Regions from separate parts of the Homo sapiens genome. Here region 2 is linked to region 1. Evidence: promoter capture Hi-C in human tissues and cell types (Jung and others, 2019). All regions are on one chromosome and are shown on one strand. The core of a region is centred on a gene start or on the middle of the fragment in contact, and the rest is flanking DNA. Distances in the headings are between cores, read along the strand shown. Region 1 holds the start of PPP1R14D (protein phosphatase 1 regulatory inhibitor subunit 14D). Region 2 overlaps DNAJC17 (DnaJ heat shock protein family (Hsp40) member C17).

Region 1 (3,419 bases), core at 28-2,527:
TTGGGAGGCGGAGGTTGCAGTGAGCCAAAATCACGGCATTGCACTCCAGGCTGGTTTACAGAGTAAGACTGTCTCAAAAAAAGGCAAAAGAAAAAAGAAATGTGGCCCATGTGACTGGGGAACTGAATAATTTTATTTAATTATAACTCATTTAAAGTCAAACAGCTACACATGGCTGATGGCTACAGAATTGGAAAATGTAGCTCTAGGCTGGGCATGGTGGTGCACACCTGTAATCCCAGCACTTTGAGAGGCCGAGGCAGGCAGACTGTTTGAGCCAAGGAGTTCAAGACCAGCCTGGGCAACATGGTGAAAAGCCGTCTCTACAAAAAAAAATACAAAAAAATTTGCCAGGCGTGGTGGTGCGCACCTGTAGTCCCAGCTACTCAGGAGGCTGAAGTGGGAGGATGGCTTGAACCCAGCAGGCAGAGCAGTGAGCTGAGATTGCACTACTGCATTCCAGCCTGTGCAACAGGGCAAGACTTTGTCTCAAAAACAAACAAACAAACAAAAAACAAAAGAAAGAAAGAAAGAAAGAAACAAAGAAAAAGAAAAGAAACGAAAATGTAGCTCCGGACATGTATGTGCATTGAACATGGGAGTAAATAAAGATATAAAATTTTGAAACATAGTGTGACCAAGCATTTTCCCTTCTATTGTCTCATTTGAGCCTCAGAAAGTCCTATAAAGGAGATATGACAGGCACTAACAGCCCTATTATAGATTAGGGATGTTAAAAGACCTTCCCCAGATCACAAAGAGCATTAGAGGCACAGACAAGCCTAGAGGGAGGCAGACTTCTGGACTTCAAACCGATGCTTCTTTCTTTCATCAGTTACAAAAGCTTTCTCTTCACGGAAGCACCTCACATCAGCCCTCCAGCTCCTGTGAAGGTCTCAGTGCCCTGGGTGGACCCCAGGCCCCCATCTCCTCCCACTATCCGCTGTGCTACCTACCTGGAAGAGCTCCTGAACTTGAGCATCCACCCATTGCTCCATCTCCAGCCAGCGCTGGAGCTGGCCCCGGTCATACTTCACTGTCAGGCGGCTGGGTCTCCGGGACCTGGGTATCTTGGAGGAGTCCGGGTGGGACTTGGACTCTGAGTCTGTGGATGATGTCCTTCTCCTCCCAGAAGCCCAGTGGACCTTCTTACATGGGTTCTCCCCATCTGGGCTGGGAGATGTGCAGGAAGCAGGGCTTGAAGACAGCATGGAAGTATTGGTCTGGGCAAGGAGCTGGGAAAAACCGCCAGTTCTGAGCAGAGCCACAGAGGGAAGTGAGGAGACAGAGAACAGGAGAGGCCAGCAGAGAAGAAATGAAGGCAGGAGGAGGGCCAAGGCTCCCAGGGAGGGGCAAGGGCAAAGATCAATAGGACTTTGGTGCTGGGAATGCCAGTCTCCTGGCTCCTCACTGCCAGCCAGTGAGTGGCACTCCAGAGCCATGCCCCAGCCTCCCTTTCTGCAGCTTCTAGGGCCCAAAGTGGCATAAACTGCAGATGAGCAAAGGTCAAGAGGCTGCCATGCCCAGGGAGGAGGAAGGGGCCCTGGGGTCCTGAAGGGTACAGGGCTCCAATCGCTGCTCTATGGCCAGCTCTGGAATGGGACCTGAGTCGTTCTCACCTGAGATCCCTCTGTATCCCACCTTCCTGGGGCTGGATCCACTCTGGGCTCTGAGAAGCTGTGGTCAGATTCCGCAGAAGCAGGGTCCCTGGCTGGCAGGGATTCTTACTCAGAGCGTAGCACTACTGGGGGCAGAGCCCCAGCTGGTAGATAGAGTTGGAGGTCAGTTATTGATGGCTCCCGTAGGACCAGTGCCCCCAGTGTCTGGGTGTGTCCGAATGTAAACTGCTATCAGCCTGGCCTATAAAGGCAGTTTACCTGCTTGTAAAGGCAAATTTATCAAGACTTGTCTACTATGCCCGCTCCCCTGAGGCAACTGCTTAGGAAGCCATGTTTATTACCACGTGACCCTCCCCCGATTCATGTATTTGCTGACACAGAGGAAACCTGCAAACCTAACTTATACACAGGTGTCAGGGACTAATACTTCCAGGCATACATACTTGCATTCTAAGGCAGGGTATTTTTGTTTAGTCTTTTATAATGAAAATTTCTAAACTTTAAAAAAAAAAAGTGACAGAAGAACACTGTAATTTTTTTTTTTTTTTTTTTGAGATGGAGTCTCGCACTGTCACCCAGGCTGGGGGGCAATGCTGCGATCTTGGCTCACTGCAACATCCGCCTCCCAAGTTCAAGCAATTCTCCTGCCTCAGCCTCCCAAGAAGCTGGGATTACAGGCGCCCACCACCATGCCCGGATAATTTTTTGTATTTTTAGTAGAGACGAGGTTTCACTATGTTGCCCAGGCTGGTCTCAAATGCCTGACCTCATGATCCACCCGCCTCGGCCTCCCAAAGTGGTGGGATTACTGGAGTGAGCCACCGTGCCCAGCCTGTAATTTTTTTAAAATGGGGCCAGGCATGGTGGCTCACGCCTGTAATCCCAGCACTCTGGGAGGCCGAGGCGCGTGGATTGCTTGAGCTCAGGAGTTCAAGACCAGCCTGGGCAAAATGGTGAAATTCTCTCTCTACCAAAAAAAAAAATAATAATAATACAAAAAATTAGCTGCTTTGGGAGACCCAGGCGGGAAGATTGCTTGAGGCCAGTAGTTCAAGACCAGTCCGGGCAACACAGTGAGATCTTGTCTCCATTAAAAAATGTAAACAATGGGCCAGGCACGGTGGCTCATGCCTGTAATCCCAGCACTTTGGGAGGCTGAGGTGGACAGATGACTTGAGGTCAGGAGTTTGAGATCAGCCTGGCCAACATGGCAAAACCCTGTCTCTACTAAAAATACAAAAATTAGCCGGGCGTGGTGGCACACGTCTGTAGCCCCAACTATTCAGGAGGCTGAGGGAGGAGAATCGCCTGGGCCCAGGAGGCGGAGGTTGCAGTGAGCCGAGATCATGCCACTGCACTCCAGCCTGGGTGACAGAGCAAGACCCCGTCTCAAAAAAAAAAAAAAAAAAAAAGTAAAAAATGAAAAGCAAGATTACTCAGATATGGTGGTGCACACCTGTCATCCTAGCTGCTTGGAAGGTGGGAAAATCACTTCAGCCCAGGAGTTCAAGGCTACAGTGAGCTACAATGGCAACACTGCACTTAAGCATGGGTGACAGAGCAAGACCCTGTCTCAAAAAAGGAAAAAGGCGAATGGATGACAGTTTAATGATGAAATTTTAGGCCCTCACTTAAGAAGATAAGGGAGGTGTTTGAGTGGCTGGAAACTAAGATGGCAGCCAGGAAAAGCCCAGGCTTTGGAGGAAGGCTGACAATCTGAGTTCAACTCAGCTTTGCCCTGCATTGGTTTTATAATCCTTGGCCAAGTTTCATAGCCTGTTTTCACATCTGCAGATTGGG
Region 2 (3,143 bases), core at 444-2,943, 51 kb before region 1:
GGGGTTCCTTGGCCTTCAGTATTTTCTGCCTTTCCTAGAAATATTGGGAAAAGAAGAAAAGTAGAATATGAGGGAGTCAGAGATTCTCCCAAAGGAAATGCAGCCCAGAGCAAGAAGGGTCTGGAAAGGGTCACTCCTGACCAAGGGCAATGCCTGCCCAGCTCTGGTGAGGGCCTGGTGGGGAAAGCAGATGCCCATCCCCAGAGAAGCTGCCACCCCAGGGGTGGTCTACCCAGCTGCCTCCTGAAGGCCACTTGTCAGCACTCTCTGAATGGAGAGCTAGGAACACTTTCTAGGGACAGGAGGCAGAGAGACAGACCATGAGGTTCTACGGGCACAAAGTGTCCCAGGGCCCCTCCCCGTGGTGATCTGTCCCAAAACAAGGCCACCTCTGCTTGGGACAAAGCCAAATGTGGCCAGGAGATCTCAGGCAGAGTAAAAAGCAAATAGGCCCCAGAGAACTGGGAGGAAGACGGGATAAGTGGCATGTGTCAGAGTAAGGTACCATAGGGTGACCCCAGGGTTCCAGCAGGTAGAAGCCTCCACAGCAGCTCCACCGAACAGCCAGTGTGGCCGCTCTGAGCAATCTGGAGCTACCTTGGAGGGGAGATAGGCGGGGTGATAGACCTGCACCTCTCAACCTCTGGTCACGCTCCTGGCGTATCTGCTCCCGGATGAGCCTCTGCTGTTCCTCCAGCTGCCGGGAACCCTCTTCTCTCAGGCGTTCGATCTGCAGAGCAGGGGGTGGGGGTGACAATTCTGTGCAGGTCCAATTCCAGGCTGGCTCACCTTGTAAAAAGTCCTTGGGAGCTTCCACCTGCAAGCTAGGGCTCAGCAACCTGTGGGTGGGACAAATCACCCAGCTCCCACTGAAGGTGCAAAGAGCATGCCCTCTCTAGCCACGGCGACCACCAGGTCCATCCTCCCCCACCTCCTCCTCCTGCAGGTGGCCTTCTGGCCAGTGTGCCTGAGTGCTCACCTCTTGCTCTAGTGTCCTGGTGCTCCGGCTCTCCTCTTCCTCCTCACTCTCCTGGGCCTGGGCCTGCCGCTCCCGGGCCTCCAGGTCTAGACACAAGGGTTGAATGACCAGACTGCTGGTCTGTTCAGTTTCCATGTGGCCTCGGCCCACCCCAGCTCTGGCTGCCTCCCCAAAGTCTCAATCACGACGAGATCATACAGTAACTCTGCCCCCTCCCTCCATGCCCACGCCCCCGAGTCAATTTCCATTGAGAAAAATCACAGCACAGAAGTATGGGGTCTAGCAGAGTGGCCAGGGGTCTGGAAGAGTTAAAAACAGCTCACACTGACCAAGCTGGTTCTCTCTAGTGAACAGGGTGTGGGTGGTGCTTATGTCAGCAGCCCAGGGCCATGTGTCAGGGGTGCCAATGGGCGGAGCTGCTGGGCTCGATTCCTGTGGTTTGGCACCACAGCTTGACTTGCTTTGGCTTTGATTCTTTTCACACACTGAGCTCAGGTTCTCACTGTCTCCTTTACCTCCCACCTCAACTCACATTTACCAAGCCTCACTGTGGACCTGGCTACAGGGATGGGCAGAGTGTTAGGGCATCACCCCGGGTCCTGGATTGTGTGAGGGCGTTACCTTCCAAGAGAAACCTGCTTGCAACCATGTGCCAGGCCAGCTGCTGTGAGAAACCCTTCTCTTAGTCCAGAGAAGTTTGTGCACTTTACTTACTTAGACTCTCCTTTTCTCTCTCTCTCTTTTTTTTTTTTTTTTTTTGAGATGGGGTCTCCTGGCACTTGCTTTTCTTTTAATATAGAAATAGATATTGGGATGCTATATGCACATATTAAAATATATGGATGTTGAAGAGCAAGAGGAAAAGGAGAAACTTGAGTAAAGAATGCTTGGACTGGGCCAGGCGCGGTGGCTCACGCCTGTAATCCCAGCACTTTGGGAGGCCAAGAGGGGTGGATCACCTGAGGTCAGGAGTTCGAGACCAGCCTGGCCAATGTGGCAAAACTCCGTCTCTACTAAAAATACAAAAATTAGCCGGGTGTGGTGGTGCGCAACTTAGTCCCAGCTACTCGGGAGGCTGAGGCAGGAGAATCGCTTGAACCCAGGAGGCAGAGGTTGAAGTGAGCCGAGATCGTGCCACTGCACTCCAGCCTGGGCAACAAGAGCGAAACTCCGTTTAAGAAAAAAAAAAAAAGAGTGCTTGGACCATGCTGCTATAACCAGTGACTTTTTTTTAAGTGAGAAAAAAAAAATGCTTGCAGCAATCTTATTGGGTTGATGAAAATGTTCCAAATCTGATTTATAGTCAGAGTTGCATCATTTAGTAAATTTACGAAAAATCATTGAAGTGTACACTTGAAATGGGTTGATGTTGTGATATACAAAGAATACCTCAATAAAGCTATTAGAGAAGAGAAAGCCTGGACCTCTTTGAATCCTTCTGAGGGAGCTTCTCAAAGTGAAAAGTCTGGGTAGGAATTGGGGTTAGAACAAATTAAAAGACCCAGCCGGGCACAGCGGCTCGCACCTGTAGTCCCAGCTACTCAGGAGGCCAAGGCAGAAGGACTGCTTGAGCCCAGGAGTTTGAGGCTGCAGTGAGCCATGATGGTGCCACCCTAGCCTGGGTGACAGTACAAAACCCCGTCTTTCTTTAAAAAAAAAAAAAAGAAGAAGAAGACTCAGCCAGAAATGGTGAATACAAGCACCAATTTTTTTGTTTTGTTTTGTTTTTTGAGATGGAGTTTTGCTCTGTCACCCAGGCTAGAGCACAGCAGCGTGATCTCAGCTCACTGCAACCTCTGCCTCCCGGGTTCAAGCAATTCTCTGCCTCAACTTCTCGAGTAGTTGGGATTACAGGCACCCGCCACCACACCCAGCTAATTTTTGTATTTTTAGTAGAGAAGGGGTTTCACCATCTTGGCCAGGCTGGTCTCGAACTCCTGACGTCGTGATCCACCCGCCTCGGCCTCCCAAAGTGCTGGGATTACAGGCGTGAGCCACCGCGCCCGGCCACAAGCACCAATTTTACTCACACTGGATAAGTTTAAATCCCACCTCCAGCAAGCTCTTAAACTTTTGGTGCCTTAGCTCCTTTGCCTATAAAAAATGGCTTCAGAGGCCAGGTGCGGCAGCTCACCAGCTGTAATACCAGCACTTTGGGAGACTG

Evidence for each region. Contacts are between HindIII fragments. The study calls those that stand out against the background at their distance.
Region 2: a contact is called between a fragment that was not itself captured here and the fragment with the promoter of PPP1R14D in region 1, in 2 of the 25 tissues and cell types used here (IMR-90 fibroblasts and aorta).

Annotation. Positions count from the first base shown.
Region 1 is chr15:40,827,431-40,830,849 of GRCh38, forward strand. PPP1R14D (protein phosphatase 1 regulatory inhibitor subunit 14D) reads right to left here and starts at 1,278. Exons shown (of 4, transcript NM_017726.8): 1 at 957-1,278. The coding sequence starts at 1,211. The HindIII fragment of the contact is 14,686 bases long and covers 1-3,419 here.
Region 2 is chr15:40,775,563-40,778,705 of GRCh38, forward strand. DNAJC17 (DnaJ heat shock protein family (Hsp40) member C17) reads right to left here. Exons shown (of 11, transcript NM_018163.3): 5 at 980-1,065; 6 at 634-730; 7 at 1-34. Among named protein-coding and RNA genes, the nearest start is that of C15orf62, 7.2 kb to the left of the region's middle. The HindIII fragment of the contact is 3,866 bases long and covers 1-3,143 here.